Regions from separate parts of the Homo sapiens genome. Here regions 2, 3 and 4 are each linked to region 1. Evidence: promoter capture Hi-C in 16 types of primary human blood cells and fetal thymus (Javierre and others, 2016). All regions are on one chromosome and are shown on one strand. Each heading gives the region's core, a stretch centred on a gene start or on the middle of the fragment in contact. The rest is flanking DNA. Distances are from core to core; before and after follow the strand shown.

Evidence for each region. Contacts are between HindIII fragments. The CHiCAGO score rates a contact against its expected background, and 5 or more counts as called.
Region 2: a fragment that was not itself captured here is called in contact with the fragment with the promoter of C2orf69 in region 1 in 2 of 17 cell types (activated CD4 T cells and non-activated CD4 T cells); the score reaches 5.8 in activated CD4 T cells.
Region 3: a fragment that was not itself captured here is called in contact with the fragment with the promoter of C2orf69 in region 1 in 1 of 17 cell types (non-activated CD4 T cells); the score reaches 7.8 in non-activated CD4 T cells.
Region 4: a contact is called between a fragment that was not itself captured here and the fragment with the promoter of C2orf69 in region 1, in 1 of 17 cell types (M2 macrophages). The highest score is 5.5, in M2 macrophages.

Annotation. Positions count from the first base shown.
Region 1 is chr2:199,907,590-199,913,559 of GRCh38, forward strand. It overlaps C2orf69 (chromosome 2 open reading frame 69), which reads left to right and starts at 3,704. Exons shown (of 2, transcript NM_153689.6): 1 at 3,704-4,182. The coding sequence starts at 3,850. It overlaps LOC101927687 (a long non-coding RNA gene), which reads right to left and starts at 3,557. Exons shown (of 4, transcript XR_923766.4): 1 at 3,436-3,557; 2 at 1,514-1,583. RefSeq lists an enhancer at 3,836-4,025. The HindIII fragment of the contact is 7,031 bases long and covers 129-5,970 here.
Region 2 is chr2:200,492,477-200,498,446 of GRCh38, forward strand. KCTD18 (potassium channel tetramerization domain containing 18) reads right to left here. Exons shown (of 7, transcript NM_152387.4): 5 at 5,277-5,371; 6 at 696-798. Among named protein-coding and RNA genes, the nearest start is that of KCTD18, 15 kb to the right of the region's middle. The HindIII fragment of the contact is 5,213 bases long and covers 592-5,804 here.
Region 3 is chr2:200,477,278-200,483,247 of GRCh38, forward strand. It overlaps SPATS2L (spermatogenesis associated serine rich 2 like), which reads left to right. Exons shown (of 13, transcript NM_001100423.2): 13 at 359-4,987. The coding sequence ends at 754. It overlaps LOC101927741 (a long non-coding RNA gene), which reads right to left and starts at 696. Exons shown (of 7, transcript XR_007088047.1): 1 at 268-696. The HindIII fragment of the contact is 3,995 bases long and covers 261-4,255 here.
Region 4 is chr2:200,431,619-200,437,588 of GRCh38, forward strand. The region is part of intron 6 of SPATS2L (spermatogenesis associated serine rich 2 like); the gene reads left to right. The region is part of intron 3 of LOC101927741 (a long non-coding RNA gene); the gene reads right to left. Among named protein-coding and RNA genes, the nearest start is that of KCTD18, 75 kb to the right of the region's middle. The HindIII fragment of the contact is 5,374 bases long and covers 71-5,444 here.

The DNA of each region.
Region 1 (5,970 bases), core at 2,454-4,953:
TTTCAAATCCCCAAATGGCTCTATTCTCTAATTTTTATTTTATCAAGCACTTTGGGGGCCAAATTACATGCTAGAGTGGCATACCTCATATGAAGCCTGTTCCTCTCAAGGCCCAGTTTTGGCAAACAAGCTTATTAAAACACAAAAAAATACCTATTCAAAACCAAGAATAATTTTTTAAAACTAAAACTTTTCAATCTCTTAAAGAACATCAAATGGGATCCAATTAAAATCTCACAGAACTTCTCAAAATCATTTCCCCACTCCTCTCCCTCTCAACTGCTCACAGAAAGCCACATTTAAGGGCTTTTGCTGCTCGCCCACCCCCACCCCCCCGCTTTTTTTTTTTTTTTTTTAAAGACAGACTCTTACGGTGTTGCCCAGGATAGAGTTCAGTGGCTCAATTTTGGCTCACTGCAACCTCCGCCTCCCGGGTTCAAGTGATTCTCCTGCCTCAGCCTCCCGAGTAGCTGGGATTACAGGTGCCCACCACCATGTTTGGCTAATTTTTGTATTTTTAGTAGAGACAGGGTTTCACCATGTTGGCCAGGCTGGTCTCGAACTCCTGACCTCAAGTGATCCGCCTGCCTCGGCCTCCCAAAGTGCTGAGATTACAGGTGTGAGCCACTGTGCCCGGACTTTTTTGTCTTGTCTATTTTTTTCCCCCATCTCCTGCCTTCCTGTATCCACCCATTTCACCTTTCAGTAGAGAAGCTGCACATTTGTGGCCCCTAGGCCAAATATGGCCTATGTGTGCATTTAATTTAATACGGTGTTTTACAAGCAAATTTAATTAGTTGTCAACATTTACAAGTTGGCAAATGAAACATAAAAATCTGTATCTGATTTGTGTCGAGAAATCTCTTAACAAGTTTGAAGGTTTGGCAAAATGTTGCCTTCATTTTACAACTGGCTAGCAGTGAATAGTGACTGCCTTCTTCAAATATGACATCTCTCTAGTTTGCCAGTGTTTACATTCCCTATTGTTTATTTGTGGCCAATTTTACTATTTATAATATAGACCTGGCCCCTGTAGATATTGGAGTTTGTGCCTTTTAATGCTGTCCTTTCCATTGTAAATTAGCCTTTCTCAGATTCCTTCCAATTTTGCAACTTTTCTATTATATTGAATAGCATTAAAAAGGTCTGAGAGCTCAGCAGGATCCCTTGAGAACTCTCAAGAGTCCAGAGGTGAGCTATAGCCTTTTGGACACTATAAGCATTAATATAATCCCTGTGCAGAACCCTATCAGTTAGAGAAGAGAAAACTCACACAACTGATTAGAGTAACTTTGTATATGTAAGACCTCTTTCCGGGATGGAAAACCAGCTCTGAGAAAAGGGAGAATGCTTGGCCATCTGTGCCAGTGTTGTTAGAAAAGTAGTGATTTACAAAATCGGTCTCCTAGAAGACAGAGGGGATGGAGACAGAAAACAGGTATTACAGTAATATCAAGGGGACCTGTGAGAAGGAATTGCAACGGCAATGACTTGCCATAAATGACATACATACCTCAGCTAATCAATTGAGAGCTGTTACTTTCTCTGGAGGTGTCTCCTACAGGGCTGTACAAATCCCTTGACTGTAAGGAAACATTTGTGCTTACTTTAGTCTGTTTCTTTACTCTACTCTTTAAATTCTTACTTGTATTTCTCAAAGACCTTAATTATCTTAGCGATACTGAGACAACTTTGTGGCATTTAATATTTGCTACAATTTTCCTTATAAAACACATTCTCCACTCTCTTCAATAAGAATAGATTTCATTAAGGCAGGGCATGGTGGCTCCTGCCTGTAATCCCAGCACTTTGGGAGGCCGAGGCGGGTAGATCACCTGAAGTAAGGAGTTCGCAACCAGCATGGTCAACATGGAGAAACCCTGTCTCTATTAAAAAAATACAAAAATTAGCCGGGCGTGGTGGCACATGCCTGTGATCTCAGCTACTAGGGAGGCTGAGGCAAGTGAATCGCTTGAATCTGGGGGGCAGAGATTGCAGTGAGCCGAGATTGTGCCACTGCACTCCAGCCTGGGTGACAAAGCAAGATCTTGTCTTAAAAAAATAAACTTAAAAATAAAAATAGATTTCATTATAAGGTCAAGCTAAAAACAAGACCACAAATCAAAAGCTGCATTTGCAATTCATGTACATGTTTGGACTTTTAGATAACATTTCAGCAATCCTCTATCTAACAATGGAAAGTAACATGTTTGCAATTGGCAAAACAGAGTGACGTCAGGTTGCCTAAATGTCATTATATACTAATTATTGTATAACTAACCTCTACTTGTTTTTAACCAGTTATTTTAGAAAGCGGCAGATTTCCTTAGTAATTAATTGAATAATTTTTGATTGATAACAATATTTTGATGTCAGATGGAATGCAACAATTTAGACCAGAGTAGGTTAGCATACTAAGTCACCAAGTCTATACATATATATAAATCATATTTTATCATTTGCTCATTTATGTTCCTACTCCAAGCCATTTGTTATTATTTGCATATGTAGACCAAAGAAAACAGTATGTGTGCTTAAATACACATATATAAACTCCGAACAATTATATATAAAGTGCTTAGATTTCTGGCCTATAGTAAACCCTCAACAAATGTTGGCTGTAGTTTTTTGTAATTTTCATTAATTATTCTCTTTACAGTGCTTTGTCTCACAAGTACTTGGATCTCATCCTCGCTCGCACACATTTCCCTGTTTTGTTTGTTTTTGGTTTATTTTTTGAGACAGGGTCTGCTTCTGTTGCCCAGGCTGGAGTGCAGTGGTGGGATCACAACTCATTGCAGCATACAACTCCTGGGCTCAAGCGATCCAATCTCCCATCTCAGCCCTCCCAGTAGCTTGGACTATAGGCATGCACCACCACGCCCGGCTAATTAAAAAAAAAAATTTAGTAGAGACAAGGCCTCCCTATGTTGCCCAGGCTGGTTTCAAACTGCTGGACTCAAGTGATCCTCCGCCTCGGCCTCCCACAGTGCTGGGAGTACAGGCCTGAGCATACATTTCGCCAAATCTTATTCCTACTCAACTGGCCACAGATAGTTGCTGGACACACATGACTTTCCTACACTGTTTAGTTTTTGAAAACCTCCAAATAGCAAAACACCAAGTAAAGCGTACTGCCTCGCCCCGTTTTTTTCCTGTCCTAGATCATGTACCCTGTTCCCAAACAGAGATGAATTAGCTTCATATCTAACCACAAATTCTCCATGAGCACAGAGATCTTCGTATATCTATAATAATTGTACTCAGGAAACTCAAGGTATGAGGAGAGAGATTCCCTTCCTTCGGGGCTTGTAGGAGACTTCCCACGGAATCTTCTTTGGGAATGTCTCCCTTTTAAGCCCTGAAAGACCAGATAAATCTCAGGTGAACCTAGAGAAACAGGGAGCTTCGTATACTCAAAAGTCTATACATTACGTATTATTGAACGGCGACCTGCGGCCGCCCCTGCTGCTGCGCATGCTCCATAACTGCCGCTTGCTATAGCTGGGAGTACTGTATTATCTCTTTGCTCTTCGCCGGCTCTTCCCCAGACTTCTGTTCGAACTTCCCGGCCGCGGCAGAACCCACCAATCACAAACGCCCTTCCTCAAGCCACGCCCACCGTCTTCTCCGGGATCCCAAGACCGATTTCGCCCACACCCCTCCCTTCCTTTCCTTACGCACGCTGCGCGCGGACGTCGGCCTCTGACGTCGTCGCCTCAGCGCCGGCTCCCGGCCGGGCCGCGGCCGCCGACCGTTGAGCCGCCGGCTGAGCCGCCTGCTGAAGTCCCTCCCTCAGGAACCCCTCCGCCACCCTCCACCTCCGAACCGCTCTCGCGGCGGCGACCCATGTGGGGGTTCAGGCTCCTGCGGTCGCCGCCGTTGCTGCTCCTGCTGCCGCAGCTCGGAATCGGAAACGCCTCGTCCTGCTCTCAGGCCAGAACCATGAACCCGGGCGGCAGCGGCGGCGCGCGATGCTCCCTCTCGGCCGAGGTGCGCCGCCGTCAGTGCCTGCAGCTTTCCACCGTGCCTGGAGCCGATCCGCAGCGCAGCAACGAATTGCTCCTGTTGGCGGCGGCCGGGGAGGGACTGGAGCGGCAGGACCTCCCCGGGGACCCAGCGAAGGAGGAGCCGCAGCCGCCGCCCCAGCATCACGTCCTCTATTTCCCTGGGGATGTGCAGGTAACTCGGGGCCTGCCTGGGTATCTGTTCCTTCCTCTCGTGTATACGTACGCGGTCACTGATTCTTCCCTCGTGGCTGCTGCCTGGTTCCTTTCCTTGCCTGAACACACCCACACATTCACTGAGGGTGGCTCTTCCTCTACTCCACGAAATCCAAAACCGTGCCTTCCACGCCCTTGGCGCCCTTTGTCCATAGAACCCCATGGGGAAGGTGTCCGACGAGGGCTACGATCTCGAAAGAGCCAGCTGTCGGTCCAGGTTTCCAAGAGGCGGAATTTGAGACAGGGAGTGACACGCATCTTGTATATTTATTCTATAATTTGGTTTCTCAGAGGACCGTGTGTGTGTGTTGGGCAGGGGACAGAGCGATGGCTTTCAAATTAAGTTAGCACGTAGTGTTTAGAAAACGGTGGCAGTAATTAAAAACCAAACAAACATTACAAAGGTATGACATCCAGTAACCCTAAAAAAGAGTGGGGATGGGTGGAAGAAAAGGGACAATAATTATTAAGCATGTCAATGTTTTGATGCTCACCTCTTTTGTACTTTTGCTTTTGCATGTTATGTTTATTATTTTATAGCTGCAGGTAAATATCCGTGGTTATGTTGCCCTGAAAACTGGGTCTTAATCTAACGTTGCATTATCTAATATGGTAGCCATTAGCCATATATGGCTATCTGAATTAATTAAAATTAAATAAAACTAAAAATCCAGTTATTCATATTAGCTGCATTTCAAGTGCTCAGTAGCTACAGATGGCTTGCGTGTGCTGTATTGGACAGCACAGATATATAGCATTATCATAGAAAATAATCCATCATCATAGAAAGTTCTAGACAGGTAAAGCTAGACTATAGCTAGGTATGTTTCTCTTTTTTGTTTTTTTGAGACGGAGTCTTGCTTAGTTGCCCAGGCTGGAGTGCAGTGGCGCAGTCTCGACTCACTGCAACCTCCGCCTCCCGGGCTCAAGTGATTCTCGTGCCTCAGCCTCCCGAGTAGCTGGGATTACAGGCATGCGCTACCACACTGAGCTAATTTTTGTATTTTTAGTAGAGATGGGGTTCCACCATGTTGGACAGGCTGGTCTCGAACTTCTGACTTCAAGTGATCTGCCCACCTTGGCCTCTGAAAGTGCTGGGATTATAGGTGTGAGCCACCGCGCCCGGCCTACATGTGTTTCTTATACTATGAAACTACATTAGTTTATTTTCAAAATTGGTGCCTTAAAATGACATACTTAGAAACTGTGCTCTGAGTCAGATAATGATTAAGATATAGATATAGATATATAGATATAGATATAGATATTCTCTTTTTTTTTCCAGTTTTTATTAGCAGTCAACTAAACCAGTTATTTTGAGGGCAAAAGAAAATAATATATATTATTTTATATATATATTATATATAAAATTATATATATTATATATAATATATAATATATTATATATAATATATATTATAATATATATAATATATATTATATAAAATATATTCTATAGAATATATATTCTATTATATAATATATATTCTATTATAATATATATTATATATAATATATATTCTATTATAATATATATTATATATAATATATTCTATTATGATATATATTATATATAATAACATATATTATATATAATATATATTCTATTATATAAAATATATATTATATAAAATATATATTCTATTATATAAAATATATATTATATAAAATATATATTATATTATATAAAATATATATTATACTATATATAAAATATACTATATAATATATATAAAATATATATATA
Region 2 (5,970 bases), core at 1,948-4,447, 580 kb after region 1:
TGGTTAACTACTAAAAACTGAATAAGCATCTCCGCATTTCAGTGAAAGACCCAGAGGGCAAATGTAAGAAAGTAGTCTGAAATTCCATACGGGCATTCAATTAAATTGTAGAACATGTGATCAAGAAATCAGAACATCTGAAGGCCATGAATAAAACCCAGACACTGTAAAAAAAATGTGATTTTAAATGTATTTAAAACACAGTGAAAGACACAGCTGTGGAGTGAATTTAATGCTAATAATTTCATGGAACACAGGAAAATACCATTTAATAAAAGTGCTATTTGTGGCAATAGGAAACAGAAAGGAACTCAGAATAAGCCACAAGAAATTTCAAGTATTAAGTCTAAATAGATTTTTTTTTTACTATTGCCAGTAAAGCCTGGGATTCCACTTCTGTGGAGCAAAAATATTTACCACAGCATGCCCACTGTGTCCACTAGTAATTTTAGAATCACTCTCTCAATAAGAACATGTTACACATGCAGTTACAAAGAATTATAGCCACTTTTTACATAGTTTTGGTAACTTTATATTTATCAAGATCTATATTTTGATGGTAAGACAGAATATTCAAATCGGTGATTAATAAGCTTAGTAAGGTCAAGAATTATTATTCATTTTCCCTTCACAAAGGCAGTAAAAATGTCAGCGATTAAAAAAACAAAACAAATAAACAACACAGCATAGATAACCTCTTTCGAATTGGAGCCATGTGACGCAGGCTTCCAAGTAAAGGCCGTTCTTCTAGAGTCCAACACTCTATCAGCTCATGAGGCACCCGCCAGTAGCTAACACCTGGAAGGTAAAAAGACATAATTAAGACAGCTACCATCCACTGCAAAATGCTGAGCAACACTGTTTCGCCTAAGACCTGCCAGAGTCTGAGGTTCATGCCTCCCGTTTGGCAAAGAGAGGTGTGCACAACATGAACAGGAAGCGCTCACACGAGGAGCTAGGGCCAGGGAGCAACACAGCTCACGACCTGGGTCAGGAAGAGCTGGCCACCAGCTTTGCCACTGATTAGCTGAGAAGATTCAGCAGGTTATGATGCATACTCAGGGCAGCTGAGAGTGAGGGCTCAGGCTCCAGCAAAGCCTGTGTGGGTCTCAATCTCCATCTCTCACTCACTATTCATGTCACCTTGGGAAAGTTACTTTTCTGGGCCTGAATTTTCTCAGCTGTGAAATGATGACAATAATAGTATGTACCTTGAAGGACCACTGTGATGATTAAATGAGTTAATAAATGCAAAGTGCTTAGAACAGGGTCTAGCACAGACTAAGCACTCAAAAACTGTCAAGTACCTTTATTCCCAGTAGTCGTAGGGAGCAGTATAAGTATTGTATAGGGGGTGGGTTGTAACACTTGCCTTGTCTACTTCACTGGGTTGCTGTAACATCAAATCAGGGGAACTTTGTGAACTACTCTGAAAATGGCAACCACTGTACAAATATGAGACATCACCACCCGATAACCACCTTTTCCAACAAGAATCTGAGCTAGTGAGTTAGGCAAAAATGCCATTCAAATTCATTTTAATTTTTAAATCTGTTATGTTTTTTATTAAGAGCTGAAAAATGTATTTATTCTTGAAGCCTCGAAAACATTATGCTAAGTGAAAAACACCAAACACAATAGGTCACATTTGTATTGTTCCATTTGTAGAGCTATCAAGAGTAGGTAAATCCATTGAGACACAAAGCAGACTGCTGGTTGCCAGGGGCTGTGGGAGACAGTGGAGTGGGGAGTGACCGCTTAGGGGTTCCTTTTGGGGTGATGAAATGTTTAGAACTGGAGAGAGGTAATGATTGCACAACATTGTGAATGTAGTAAATACCAATGAAATGTATGCTTTAGTTAATTCTGTTATGTGAATTTCCATCTCAATTTTTTTTAGAAAAGAAGCATAAATATATACACATGAAAAAAGCTCAAGGAATTATGTTGAATAAAAATTGCTTGGAGTAATCTAAGTCCCAATAATGGATTTGGTGTTGTCTTCTTATTAAACTTCTGGTAACAATAACAATTTAGCAAGCTGGGCATATAAATCATTATAATGATAGACATATCTGATACTCAAATAACTCTATGATCCTCATTTTAAAACAATTAACTTTCTGGAACTGCTTGATCACACTCCAAAACCTACACATACTATAAAAACATTCCCAAATCCGGTCCATTAAGTTTGCTTTTTCTAAAAGTCAGATTTATTAAGATATAATTTATGTAAAATAAAATTCACCCTTTTCAGGTACACATTTCAATGAGTTTTGACAAATGGATATAGTTATGTATCCATAGTCATAATCTGTAGACCACTTCTATCACCCCAAAAATTTCCTCATACCCCTTAGCAATCAATGTCCCCTCCATATCCTTAGTTTTGCCTTTTCTGAAATGTCATATAAATGGGATCATACAAAATGCAACCTTTTGTGTCTGGCTTCTTTAGCATGATGCTTTAAGATTCATCCATGTTGCTGTATGTAGCAATGATCATTTCTTTTATCAGTGAGTAGTATTCCACTGTATGGATACACCACAATTTGTTTAAAAACTTTCTTTTTTTTTCCTGCCTATAAAGTAATTCACATCCCTTGTACAATACCTGGAAAATATAGAAAAGTATATATAAGGGAATCAAAGTCACTCCTAATCAGAAGACCAGGAATCATTGGCTCAGGACAGACTAATATGTTTCATTCCAGTCTTTTTTCTAGTCATATGATATACTTTACATTTATTTCCTGCTTTTCATCATTTCTTATCATGGGCATTCATCTATGCAAAAAGTTATTTAAAATAACTTTAATCGCTTTATTATATTCCATTCTGTGGATGTGCCAAAATATATTTAACCCTCAATCATTAGACATTTAAAGTGTTTTTATTTTGTCTCTATTATGAAAAATGCCAGAGAACATTTCTGTTCCTAAGCCTTTGTCTGTGTTTATGTCCTTAAGATAGATAAGATAGATTCCAAGAAGTAAAATTACTGGGTCAAAGAATATGAACAATTGTGATGCACTGATGTGACCTAACAAGTTATTTTCCAAAAGTTACATCAATTTTTACTCCTACCAGGAATGAATAAGAGATCTTTACTCATCTGGTATATAAAAAATTGTTTTTATTAAATGTATATTTCATTGATAAGGAATGAAGCTGAACCGCCTGCCACGTGTTTACTTCTTTTTCTGGGAATTTTATGGTCATGAACCTTGTAATTTTTTTTTTTGTAGTAGTGGTTGCCTTTCTAATCAATTTTAATAAACTTTCTTTCTATTAAGGATATACTTTGTCCAGTTAATGCAACATTATTTATCCTAGTTTTTTATTAGTCTTTAAATTTTATTTATAATTTTTAATGTTTCTTGTTTTTTTGTTTTGTTTTGTGTTTAACATTTATGCCTAGTGTTCCATTATTGGAACACTAAGCATGTGGGAGTTATTTATATCCTACTGCTCAAGGTCATCGCCAAGATCTGATTGCAAAAATTCGGCTCACTGCAACTTCTGCCTCCTGGGTTCAAGCGATTCTCCTACCTCAGCCTCCTGAGTAGCTGGGACTACAGGCGTGTGCCACCACACCCAGCTAATTTTTGTATTTTTAGTAAAGACAGGGTTTCACCATGCTGGCCAGGATGGTCTCAATCTCATGACCTCATGATCCACCTGCCTCGGCCTCCCAAAGTGCTGGGATTACAAGTGTGAGTCACCGTGCCCAGCCCTCCTTCAGCTTTCTAAGGCAGTGGGCTCCTGGACATCTTGCCAGTCCAGAGGCACAAAGAGAGACACAGAGAACACCATGGAGTTTGTTCTCCAACTTGAGCATAAGTGTCTCAAAGTAAATTAAATATAAAATAGAAAGCTGAAAGATGTCATCCTGCCTCTTGAGGGGTATGACTGGAAAGGAAAAAGGAAGGAAAGTGAGGGGGGCAAAGTTGAGGAAAGGAAGAAGGACTGGAGCTGGCACGACACCTGAAGGAAGAACAGCTGATACAGTGTTTTGTTTTGTTTTGTTTTGAGACGGAGTTTCATTCTTGTTGCCCAGGCTGGAGTGCAATGGTACAATCTCAGCTTACAGCAACCTCTGCCTCCCGGGTTCAAGCCATTTTCCCACCTCAGCCTCTCAAGTAGCTGGGATCACAGGCATGCGCCACCATGCCCGGCTAATTTTTTGTATTTAGTAGAGATGGGGTTTCGCCATGTTGGTCATGCTGGTCTCAAACTCCTGACCTCAGGTGATCCACCTGCCTCGGCCTTCAAGGTGCTGGGATTACAGGCATGAGCCACTGCACCCAGCCAATGCAGTTTTTAAAAGCCTCTTCCTCTCCTTTTATGTCTTGCTCTGTCACCCAGGCTGGAGTGCAGTGGTGTGATAACAGCTCACTCCACCCTCAAACTCCTGGGCTCAGGCAATCCTCCTGCCTCAGCCTCCCAAGTAACTGAGACAATAGGTGCATGACACCAGGCCCAGATCTTTTATCCATTGTGTGACTGGCAGTCAGTCTTTACTAGCTTTCAGGATTATTTGAGGATGGAATAAGTCTTATTTATCTTTGGATCCAATTTTAGGACTTGTTATCATACTTTGCACCTAACAGACACTCAATACATGGTTGTTAATTAAGAAAAAAAATGCTTAGGCATAGAACAGAACACGTAACCTGTGATCCTTATGAAAGTGTCAAAGCCCTTCTGAGACTCAGTTTCCTCATCTATAAAATAGGAATGGTAAGTAGCGTACAGGATTGTGTTAGGACTAAGAGATACTGAATGTAAACTACTTATCGGGGATATAAAACAGCATTATTATTACCAACTCTCACTCTGTAGTTTGAGAAAAATGACCAGTTTTCAAAGTGTACATTTAAAGATTATTGTAATTATTTTATAAGGGCTCTTTAGACATCTTCTCCAACATTATTTTCTCTCCCTTTCCTTGATTACATATTTTATGCTTAATTTGAAGTATTTTTCCAATGCACAGTAGGTACTAAATGAACTCTTATTTAATTAAATTAAATAAGCCTAGCTAACAGAAACATACCTAGTTACTGAATTATAAACTATTAATAATATCTAGCAACTCATGGGATTTAAAGATTTGTAAGTAAACTGCCTCAGTGTTATCATGAGATGACAAATACATTGTAAGACTCAAAAGAATACTTTCTAAAAAAAGAAATGCAGTATTTGAGCTTACTTTGTCTTTTTTTTTTAAAGTCCACCTGCTTCCATGAAATAAAAGAATTGCACTGTACCTTTTCCTTCCCAAGCATCAAAGGCATCCATCATTTTCTTCAACTCTGCTACTGAATAATAGCTCCAAATGTACTGAACATTATTTCCCGCCTCTCTAGAAATATTGCAAAGAGTAATGAAAATATACTACCTAGGTATGGATGTGCATATATACATACAGCTAATATACATTTAATAAGAGCTTGTTAATTAAGGGAAAAAACATGTAAGCACTGAGTAGTTGTTCTGTGATCCTTAAGTATACATATGCTTACACAGATACATATGTACACATTATATAATATACTAACCTATATTTTGATCTCTTTTTATCATAGTATTTTATTAATTCCACAATATGCACCATGTAGACAAATCAACACATCTTTAATATCAAGTTTTTAAAAAAAATCAGCGAACTCCAATGAACTTAGAAAATATTCACGTTTCACCAGCATTATGCCAGGCACTTACACATCTTACATAGAAGCATCCCTATCTGTAAAGAATTCAGAAACTGATGACATATTTAATAATCTCAAAAGGCAAGCTTATATGATCCTTCATTAGTCACTAATATTCGACCCAATCCCATCTGCCAGAGAATTTTTTTAAAAATTGCTAAGAGAATTAACCAGTGTAAATAAGATTATAGGAAAAATATTAAGTAATAACTCTTAAGAATTTAACATGTTCAAGTCATAAAATTCTAAA
Region 3 (5,970 bases), core at 1,008-3,507, 570 kb after region 1:
CATAGTAGAGGATCATCATTACTCTGCCCCTGGCTTCTGTTTTATTCTGCTATAGTTTAAGCATCTTTATGAATTTTATTTGACCCAGTTTTTGAATTGTCTGTCTTACACTTCTGTAACCTCTCTTTCAATATCATTTTCTTCCAGTTCCATTTACAAAACAGTCCACTATTCTTTTAGGATTAATAATTTTATCTGCCTGACCTCATCTTCATGTTTTCTGATTCTTCTGGTGTATAAAAAAAAAAAAAAAAAAAAAAAGCTTACCTGTGGCTTAGAGATTTGGTTTTCCTGATGTCTACTGGTGTCATCAGTGGCTTGCTGGCATCTGATACTTATCTCTTTTCTTTTTTGGTAGAATGGATCTTCTAACCAAAGACGGAGATTTAATCCACAGTATCATAACAACAGGCTAAATGGGCCTGCCAAGTCGCAGGGCAGTGGGAATGAAGCCGAGCCACTGGGAAAGGGCAACAGCCGCCACGAACACAGAAGACAGCCGCACAACGGCTTCCGGCCCAAAAACAAAGGCGGTGCCAAAAATCAAGAGGCTTCCTTGGGGATGAAGACCCCCGAGGCCCCGGCCCATTCTGAAAAGCCCCGGCGAAGGCAGCACGCTGCAGACACCTCGGAGGCCAGGCCCTTCCGGGGTAGTGTCGGTAGGGTTTCACAGTGCAATCTCTGCCCCACGAGAATAGAAGTTTCCACAGATGCAGCAGTTCTCTCAGTCCCGGCTGTGACGTTGGTGGCCTGAGCTAGGAGGAAAAAGAGCAGTTTTCACTCAGTTTTGGTTCCCTGCCCGAGGTGCTGACCCAATTCGCTGCCAAAAGAGTGTCAATCAGAATATACAAATCCCGTATGGTTGTGTCATCCTCTCTTAATCATTTTTACTAATTCTAATAATCAGCTCTAGCTTGCTTCATAATTTTCATGGCTTTGCTTGATCTGTTGATGCTTTCTCTCATCAAGACTTTGCAGCATTTTAGCCAGGCAGTATTTACTCATTATTAGGAAAATCAAGATGTGGCTGAAGATCAGAGGCTCAGTTAGCAACCTGTGTTGTAGCAGTGATGTCAGTCCATTGATTGTCTTTAGAGAGTTAATGTTACAAAAAAGAATTCTTAATAATCAGACAAACATGATCTGCTGAGGACACATGCGCTTTTGTAGAATTTAACATCTGGTGTTTTTCTGAAAAAATATATATACATATATTGCTTTATTTGAAACAAATTAAAATATGCTGCATTTGACACCTGGCTAGTTTCTTTTATTGATACCCACCTAGTTATTGAATGTACTGTTTAGTGCTTTCAAAAAAAACTTTAGAGACTAGAGGTTGTGGTGCAAAGCTGTGTACAATAAATACTGTTTCTGTTGAGACAAGTACTCTTTCAGGAAAATATATATATGCCCTTTCAATTAGATTACACAAATAGATGGATATGCACCCTGATCATCTTAGACACACCATGTGGCAGTTGGGCAGTTGGAAACATTGGTTGCAAGTACTACAAACCTCAGCTGAGCCTAGCTTCAACAATAAGAATTTATTGGTTCAGTGAGTGAAAAGTCCAGTTGGTCCAATTTGATCAGGATTTCAGCTCCCATCTCTTTTTTTTTTTTCTTTTTTCTTTTTCTTTTTTTGAGACAGTCTTGCTTTGTCACCCAGGTGGAGTGCAATGGCATGATCTCGGCTCACTGCAACCTCCGCCTCCTGGGTTCAAGCCATTCTCCTGCCCGGCCTTCCGAGTAGCTGGGATTACAGGCATGTGCCACCACGCCCTGCTAATTTTTATATTATTAGTACAGACAGGATTTCACCATGTTGTCCAGGCTGGTCTCAAACCCCTGACCTCAGGTGATCCACCTGCTTTGGCCTCCGAAACTGCCGGAATTACAGGCATGAGCCACCGTACCCGGCCAGCTCCCATCTCTTAATTATCTTAGCTCTCCTTTCCTCCTTGGGTTGACATTGCATTCAGAATTGTGGCAAAGGGCCACCATGCTCTTAAGACTCAAGTCTATTTTCCACACTGTCCAGAGGAGAGAAGTTATCCTAGTAGCTTCTACACAGAGCAAGTGTCTTTCTCAGAAATCCCAGCAAAGGTCTTGCATACCATTGCTGGTAGGCCTGTCTCTTAAACCAATCATGAAAGGGGGGAGAGAAGTGAATGGGATGAACTAATTTGCATAGACTAATTAGAGCCCACCCCTGGAGCCTGGGTGTGGCCATCTTCCCAGAGTTCCTGAGCTAGATGGAGAAGGGGTACTTCTCAGAAAGGGAAAATGGATACCCAATGGCCCAAACCCAAAATAGCCCCAGTTCCCCTAACTTTGACTACAGGGCAGTCCAGTTTGGGTGCCGCTTCCGTTGCACTCACATGTCCTACATATCTGTTGACTACTCACAAGTGCAAATGCTTATTCTCAACTCAACATTAACATTTTTTCTGGCAACCCAGGTTCACTGGTTCTCTTCCACAGAGCGGCCCTGAGCAGCTGAGCCTGCAAGCCACGCAAGCATCTGTTTCTTCTTTTGCCAAGTACAGGAGGATGTTTGCTCTCTCTGTAGAGAGCTTTCTGAGGTCTCTGGGTGTACCCAGAGATTTAATAGAAATTCTTAACGTTAAGTCACATTCCAGGAAGGAAGGAAGAGTTGTTCGTTCAAATAAGAAAGATAAATGTTCGGCACTGTAGGCCCTGTTTACCCCATCTGAGGCCCTGAATTCATATATTACAAGACGGAAGGATTTTGCACAGTTTTTTATGTAGCAAGATTTTGCTCACCACTGAAAAATGTCAGTGTAAATGTGACCGCTTTAAAGATGAGTCAAGTAATTCTTGGAACAGGGAAAAAAATGAATTTGCCAGGTCAGGAGTTCACCTGCCTTTGTCAGAGTTGAACCCAACCACTCTTGACCTCGACTCACTCCCTTAGGGTTAAGAAAGCCCAAACACATTCCTGAGCACAGAGCAAACACTCCCATGTCACTGAAAAGAAACAAAAGAATGCTAAAAAGTGCTCAGACCTGATCACATTTTTTCCAATATTTTTTCCTTTTTTTTTTTTTTTTTGAGACAGGGTCTTGCTCTATCACCTAGGCTGGAGTGCATGTTTTTGAGACAGGGTCTTGCTCTATCACCTAGGCTGGAGTGCATGATCATGGCTCACTATAGCCTTGAACTCCTGGGCTCAAGCCATCCTCAGCCTCCCAAGTTGCGAGGACTACAGGTGTGCACCACAACGTCCCAGCTACTTTTTAAATTTTTAGTAGAAACGAGGTCTCACTATGGTGCCCAGACTGGTCTCGAACTCCGGAGCTCAAGTGATCTTCCTGCTTTGGCCTCCCAAAGTGTTAGAATTACAGGCATGAGCCACCTCGCCTGGCTGGTTTTTGCCTTTCTTATAGACCCTGGGCATGTAAGCATTTATTAGTTTGCATTTTTGAAACAGTAATTTCAATATTTTAGTGCCAATGTCAGGCCGCTTAAACACTGTATTACATATCTTCATCTGTCTGGTGGAACTATTGGTGTGATCCTAGAGAACTGAGTCCTATTCTGCCATTCATTTAAAGTGTTTTAAACTCTAATCTCTCTACTTAATGCACAGTAGTCAGATTATTCTCTTAAACATTTGCCTAGTAGAGGTTAAAATAGTTTAATCCTTATGAAGATGGAATAACTTCAAACTCACATTGTGGCACTTAGATCTTCCACCAAGACTTCATCCGTGAAATCCACACCTCCCTGTTGGGTTCCCAATTACATTCCAAATTTACATTTCTTTTGAGAATCTCTGCATACTCCAGCTCTGTCCTGTTGATCCTATTCTAGAAGTGCTTAATGCAGCAAGACACAGAAAGTTAAACGCAAATTGCTGCAAAATTCACCCTCAGTGGAGGACTAGAAACACAACATGTCCAATTTAAAGCTCAGTTCACAAGCAGTTCAATTCTGCTGGCATCAGAAAAGGAGATTCTAATTAAACATTCTTAGGGAAGGACATCAAATGAGGTTAATGGGAAACGTTACCAGATTAAAAGCAGTTTTTTGACAAAGTAACAGATTTGGAAATTCTGACTCTCTGAAAGCCTTGATTTGAACCTCAAACTTGATTTCACCATGAGAAGTGGGGATCAAGGGCCTGCGCAGTTCTTTTCCTAAATCGATTCGGTGCTCCCCACCCCGACGCAGGCACAGGTCCGCAACCAGATAGGGAGATGCCTGAATTTCAGGCTACCTTTGACAAAGCTTTCTTCCTCCCTCCCTCCCTTTGCACGCTGCATCCCACGCTGCCTGCTTAAAGCGCCCTCATGTGTCTACAGATGGTAAAACGTTTATTTCTCAACAGACATTCCAGTGATAGCATCCAATGACCTATGTAACGGCACCCTTTTTTGCTGTACGCGTTTTTTGAGATGGAGTCTCGCTCTGTCGCCCAGGCTGGAGTGCAGTGGCGCGGTCTCGGCTCACTGCAAGCTCCGCCTCCCGGGTTCACGCCATTCTCCTGCCTCAGCCTCCCGAGTAGCTGGGACTACAGGCACCCGCCACCACACCTGGCTAATTTTTTGTATTTTTAGTAGATACAGGGTTTCACCGTGTTAGCCAGGATGGTTTTGATCTCCTGACCTCGTGATCCACCCCCCTCGGCCTCCCAAAGTGCTGGGATTACAGGGGTGAGCCACTGCGCCCGGCCCCAGTCACTTGTTCTTAAGTTTCTTAAGCAAACTATAAAATAGCAAAAGACCAAAAAAAAAGGAAAAAAAGCAGTTCGCCTAATACATTGTTCCAGCATTTCCTTGAAAGTACTGAGCCATCTCAATTGCTCTGATTTTGTGAGAAAATTATGAAGAGTTGCAAAGTCCCAGTGATTCTCTTGTTACTTAGCTAAGAATTTGAAATGTAATTTAAATACTATTCTTTACAATCCATTATAAGGATTTTAAAATCTTTTTGCTTCTTTAATAAATTCTAACAAAGTTTTGTGTTTATTCTTAGTTTCAAAGAACCAGGTCCCCAGTCCTGGGAGGCTGCTCAGCTGGCCAAGCCAGTGTTTAATCTCATTATAGCAGCCCTGCAGGCAAAGGCACTCTGGTCTGAATCTAGTCTATCTGAGAAATACACAATGCTGCTCTCATCATTCAAGGTTCTTACACATTAATGATTAATTATCAGAAGTCCCTTTGTCTGAGAACTCTGTTTTTTCCCACAGCTCAGAGGAGCTTCTGGGGCTGCCACTAAGTTCCAGTTTCATAGGAAGAATTGCCACAAACAACTTTTGCAGAATAATGAGTATATTCCAAAGCAAATTTGTCTGAGAAATTATGTAGACTTCTGGCAAAAAAAAAAAAAAAAAAAAAAAAATGGTTCAGAAGCATGACTGTGACAATGGCCAAAGAACTTCTACAGAAAATAGCAGTGTAAAAAGTGCTCCCTGTCAAAAAAAAAAAAAAGTATCCTTTTTTTTTTCTTTTTTTTTTTTTTGTGTGTGTGTGTGTGAGATAGGATTTTATTCTGTAACCCAGGCTGGAGTGCAGTGGTGCAATCACAGCTCACTGCAGCCTCCAGCTCCTGGGCTCAAGCGATTCTCCAGCCTCAGCCTCCCAAGTAGCCGGGACTAGAGATGCATACCACCGCACCTGACTAATTTTTGTATTTTCAGTAGAGATGGGGTTTCGCCATGGTGTCCAGGCTGGTCTTGAACTGCTGAGCTCAGGCAATCTGCCCACCTTGGCCTCCCAAAGTGCTGGGATTACAGGCTTGAACCACCACGCCCAGCTGTCCTGTTTTTAACTTCAGATACTTAGATTTGAATTTGATTTAATTGTTCCTAGTCCTTTGAAAGAACCCACCTTCTGTAAATTACCATCATTGTGTAACAAGTCAGCCAATAACATCATTACTCCTCTGCCAACACCTGACGTATAGTAGGCACTTGATGAACACTGATTGAAAGAGAGAGAA
Region 4 (5,970 bases), core at 1,508-4,007, 520 kb after region 1:
CCTTACAGTTAGATTTGAATTCTTAAAGTTAGATTTGAATTCTTTCTTCAGTCTACTTATAAGTATATCAAGCTTTCACTAAAAAGTAAAAACTAAAGAGAAAACAATCTTTTTCAGAAACTTTCAAATTTGAATACACACATGGCTGTACATACATAATGAAAACTTTTGAATCCAAGTTTATATATTTCCCCCAAGAGGAGGGTTTGTTTTCTTTGGCACTGCTAACAAAAACAACCAGCACAATTCATTTATTGTATAAAATAAATTAAGCACAAGTAAAGTATATAAGTTGATACTAAGATTTAGTAACCAGTAAGTTGATAGTTTTCACTGTTGGCAAGAGTTAAATATGAAAACAATTGCAGGCACTGCAGCTGAGTGTAAATGGTACAACTTGACTGAAAAATAATTTGGCAAAGCATATCAAGAACTTTTCAAGAGAAAGAAAGGCATGAATTTGTATTGACTTCATAACAAATTCCCTTAAATTATAGTAAAGAAATTTTTAAATGTAGAAATCCACAATACTGAAAAAAATGAGAAAAGGGTATCAGTTTCTACAAGAAAGGAAGTAGATGGAAGGGGCTTTATTGATGAATCAGATGCTGCAGCATAGAATACAGAGGGAGGAGCTTTGGTGGGGAGGAAGATGATTGCCCTGCAGAAACTGGGGGAGCCCTGGGTTCAGAGTCAGCACATGGGATGGAAGGCAAGCTCAAGAAGAGGAGTATAAAGCAGAGGAATTAAATGAAGGTATTTTAAGGAACAGTGCACTATCCCCTTATCATCTCTTCCATCCCCCAACTTGTTCTTTTAGCTGCCTAACATTTATCCTCAAGGCAAAAAGGGAGGAAGAGAGTGGGCAGTGATCTGCAAGTACATTAGTCACCCGTTAGAACAAAAGTCAAAACCCTTTAAAGGAAAAGAAGAAGATCTAGAGTTTCTCAATGCATCATCCAAAATGGTCAGTGTCCAATTTTAAAAATTACTAGACATGGGAAGGAGCAGGAAAATGTGACCTATAATGAAGAGAAAGATTAGTCATTAAAAACAGACCCATTAACAACACAGAAGTTGGAATTAGCAGACAAGGATTGCTAATTAAAAATATGTTAAGAATTTTATGGAAAAAGAAGATGGATATATAATGGATGAAGAAAAAGAAAATTTAAGTCATCAGGTGTGCTTAGCAACAGTTCAGACGATGAAGAAGAAAGGATGAGTGAACTTAAAGACAAGTCAAAAGAAACTATGCCAACTGAAGAACAGAGAGAAAAAAAGTAAAAGAATAAAACAAAGCCAGAGCCTCAGTGACTTAAGGAACAGTATCAGGCAGTCTCACATAGGTGTAATTAGAGTCTCAGAAGGAGAGCAAAGAGGAAATTTGGCAGGGAGAAGGAGGAAGCTATGAAGAAATAATGGACACAGTTTATCCAAATTTGATGAAAAACAACAAGCCTCATATCCAAGGGTCATTTCATAGTAATATGTTGTTTGATTGATCAAAAAGATATAACACCTCTAAATGTATGTGCATCTAATGATTCCAGATCCATGAAGCAGCAATATATAGAACTAAAGAAAGCGACAAATCCAAATCCACAGCAGTGTAGATCTTAATATCAGGTTCTTAGTAACTGATAGAACATATAGATTAAAAATCAGTAAGAACATAGACGATTTGAACAATACTATCAACCAACTTGAGCCAATTGATATTTAAAGGACAACACACCCAACAATTTCAAGAGAACATGGCATTTACATTAAAATAGGCCAGTTGCTGGACCATAAAATTAGTTTCAAATTTTAAAACACCATCTTAAGAGTATGGTGTCTGAACACAGTAGAATTGAATTAACAATAGCAATAAGATAACTAGAAAATCTCTGAACATTTAAAAATTAATCAATCTTCTAAACAATCCATTAGCCAAAAAGAAAATTTCACAAGAGATATGAGAAAAATTTTGAACTGAATCATAATGAAAATATAATAAACCAATTTCCAATATCAGGGATAAAATTAACCCTGACTTCATTTATTTAAAAGCTAACAGGATGTTATAAACAACTTTATGCCAATAAATCCAACAACTTAAATGAAATGGACAAATTCTTTAAAAACACAACTTACCAAAACAGACAAGAAGAAATAGAAAATCTGAATAACACTATGCTTACCAAGGAAATTCATAATTAAAATTTCCAGGCCCAGATGACTTCCTTAGTGAATTCCCATGAACATTTGAGGAATAAATGTAATTGCAATCTTAAACAGTTTCAGAAAATAGAAAGAAGGAATACTTCCTAACTCATTTTATGAGGCCAGCATAACTCGTATCAAAACCTGACAAAGTCATTACAAGAAAAGAAAATTACAGAACAATATTGTTAATGAATAAAGAAGCAAAAATCCTCAACAAAACATTAACAAGTGAAGTAAACAATATATAAAAGGATAATACTGCATGACCAAGTGGGTGTGGTTAATAATTTCAGGAACTCAACATCAGTTTAACATTTAAAAAAATCAACATAATATTATTAATAAAATAAAGGAGAACAATAATATGATCATCTCAGTGTGTAAAATAAAAAATTCACTTGACAAAAACTGTCAGCAAAGAAGGAATACAAGAGAATTTTTAGAGTCTAATAAATACATGGAAACTCTACAGCTGTGTAATACTTGATAAAATACTGAATGCAGTTTCCCTAAGACCCAGAACAATGCAGGGATGCTCATTCTGCTTTGTAGCTAGGATTAATAAGACAAGGAACGATTGGAAAAGAAGAAGTTAGACTTCATTACCACTGTCATCATTGTGTTTGTAGAAAGAAAATCTTAAGAAATCTACAAAAAAAAATAAAGCTGCCAGAACTAATAAGGACATTAGCCAGGTCGCTAGATATAAGTTCAATATATTAAAAAGCATTTGTATTCCTGACATTTTGGAATTGAAATTTTTAAAAATGCTATAAACAATAACATAAAAATTCTAAAACACCTAGGAATAAATTTGACTGTAGATGCACAAGACTCTAAGAACTATAAAATGATGCTAAAGCAAATTAGAATTGAAATAAATGGCATAGTATGTCATGTCGAGGGTCAAAAGACTCAGTATTGTTAAGATACCGCATATCCCCAAATTGCTTTATAGATTCAACACAAGTCCAATGAAAATCTCATCATATTTTTTGTTGAAATAGGCAAATTGATTCTTAAATTTATATTAAAATGCAAAGGACCTAAGATAGTCAAAACAATCTTGAAAAAGAGGAGTAAAGCAGTTACAGTAACTAGGACAGTGTAATGGTGGTGTGAGAACTGGCAGCTAGATCGGTGGAATAGAATACAGTCCAGAAATAGTCACGCATATAGTCAGTTAATGTTTATCAGAGGTACCAAGACAATTCAATGGGAAAGTTCAATTCAGATTTACTCTGGTATCCTCTTCCATTATTTTTTCACATTTTACATACTAGTTATTAAGGTCAGTCTATTTCTCATTTATTGCCTATTAATAAACCAGAGCTGATACACTGTGCACTCTCCATATGTGTCTGTTGAATCCTTGAATCAGAAACCAACGTGATACTCAGGACATTATATACCATTTGTGTGTATATACAAAATTGGGATTTGGTAAGTGTTTTCAATAAAAGGAATGCTCACGTAATAGTTAAATTCAAAGACACAAACTTCTAGGAGCCATTTTTAGATACATGGACAAGGATTAAATTAAAATGTATACAATTTTTATTGAAATCTAGGCAGATGGTGTGTTTCCAGAGATAACTTTTCTTTCCAAGATACGGCTACTGTGGAATCTAATATTTGATGAATATTAGATAAAGACACAGCCAGAGACTCATATCAAACGAGGCTCCCTACAACTGGAAGGGCCGTAGGCATGCATAGCACTGAAGTAACACTGATTCATTCATTCAGTATTTATTATGTATCTACGAGATACCAAGCACATACAGTAATGATGAACAAGACATACATCACCCTGTCACCACTTTTCTCATGTAGAAATTGCAGAGGATATTTTAAGGCTTCACTAAAACAAATACCCTTTTCTAGAATATAAATTAGTAGTGATTACACACTGAAGATCAAAACTCTCACACTCCTTGTGTATCCTATTAGTGTTATCCAACAGAAATTTAACACATAGTATGTATATAATTTTATATTTTCTGGTAGCCACATTTAAAAAGTGTAAACAGGTGAATTAAATTGGGTAATATATTTTATTTAACTTAATGTATCAAAAATATCATTTCAACATGTAGTCAATCTTTTTTAAATTATTAAAGTAATATTTTAAATTTTTTATTTTGTACTAAACCTTCACATTTCAGCATATACATTACACTTATAGCACATCTCAATTTGGACAAGCCACATTTCCAGTGTTCAACAGCCACATGTGGCCAGTGGCTACCTTACTGGACACTGGAGGCTTATGTGTGAATCAGCCCCCATTGAGCTACAACCTGTTGAAGTTTACAAGTGGACTCCCGATAAATGGAGAGCTGATGGTATTTCTGGACTATAATGTTAGAGGAAAGTCACTGGATACAGTGACTTTCTGTTATAGCTCTATAACGCTCCACCAGTTTTCATCTGCAAGAGTCCCAGAGTTTTACTATATTTGAAGACAGATCTATACTAAAGTAACACTGATACATTCATTATTTATTATGTATCTGCAAGATATCAAACACATGCAGTAATGATGAACAAGACATACATGCATGTCAGACATACATGCATATATGCAAATATGTACAAGTGGTCTTGAAGATTTTAATGTTCAGTGATTTCACTAGTAATGAGACAGCTTTTGAGGACCTAAAAAAAATCTCTACTCACATTTCTCAATTGATATCTGATGGGGAATGTTGAAACGAACCAGTAGACCATATATCAGTTCTCTGATACACAAATAAAATGTTTTCAGCTCTAGGTTAATGAGCCTATGCTCATTTGCATGCTTGGCTTCCATTTAAAATTCTTTTGCATTTCATTACAATAATTTTTTCCCTCTGCTCTAAGGTCATTGTTTCCATTAAGTTATAGTATAAATCCCCTTATTTTCAAGAATATGATCTCTTTACGACACTATACACGAAGATCTGTGTTTTAAATTTGATATGGTTTGAATGTTTGTCCCCTCCAGATCTCATGTTGAAATGTGATTCCCAATGTCAAAGGTAAGGCCCAGTGGGAGGTGATTGGATCATGGGGGCAGATCCCTCATGAATGGTTTAACACCATCCCCTTGGTGATAAGCGAGTTCTTGCTCAGTTACTTCATGTGAGATCTGCTTGTTTAAAAGTATGTGGCACCTCTCCCCTCACTCTCTTGCTCCCATTCTCACCATGTGGTATGCTGGCTCCCAGTCATCTTCTGCCATGATTGTAAGCTTCCTGAGGCCCTCACCAGAAGCTGAGCAGATGTTGGCATCATGCTTCTTGTACAGCGTACAGAACCATGAACCAAATAAACTTCTTTTCTTTAAAAATTACCCAGGCTCAAGTATTCCCTTACAGCAATGCAAAAACAGCCTAACCCAGAATTCTCAATTTATAGTATCTCATCCAGACTGCCTCTCAACTGGAATTTAGAGAGGTAGTGACTTGGAACCAGTTTGGACGTGTCATTGTTTTAACACAAATGTTTATAGACTCAACATAAAATTAGTTTTTTAATCTTTTACAGTAGGGTTTCTCTGGGTGGCTGGTACCACCCATCTCCACTCCAACAGAATCACCTGGGGAGGAGAAGCCTGGGCCCACAGCTGAACTGGAATCTCTAGAAATGGTGTTCGGGAAGTTGCATGTGTAATAAGTACCAAGGGAAACTCATTTCACACTGAAGTTTGACAGCCAGTGCCTTATAGTGAAGTTCTACCTTAATATCACTAAGGATAAAATTGCATACTACCAT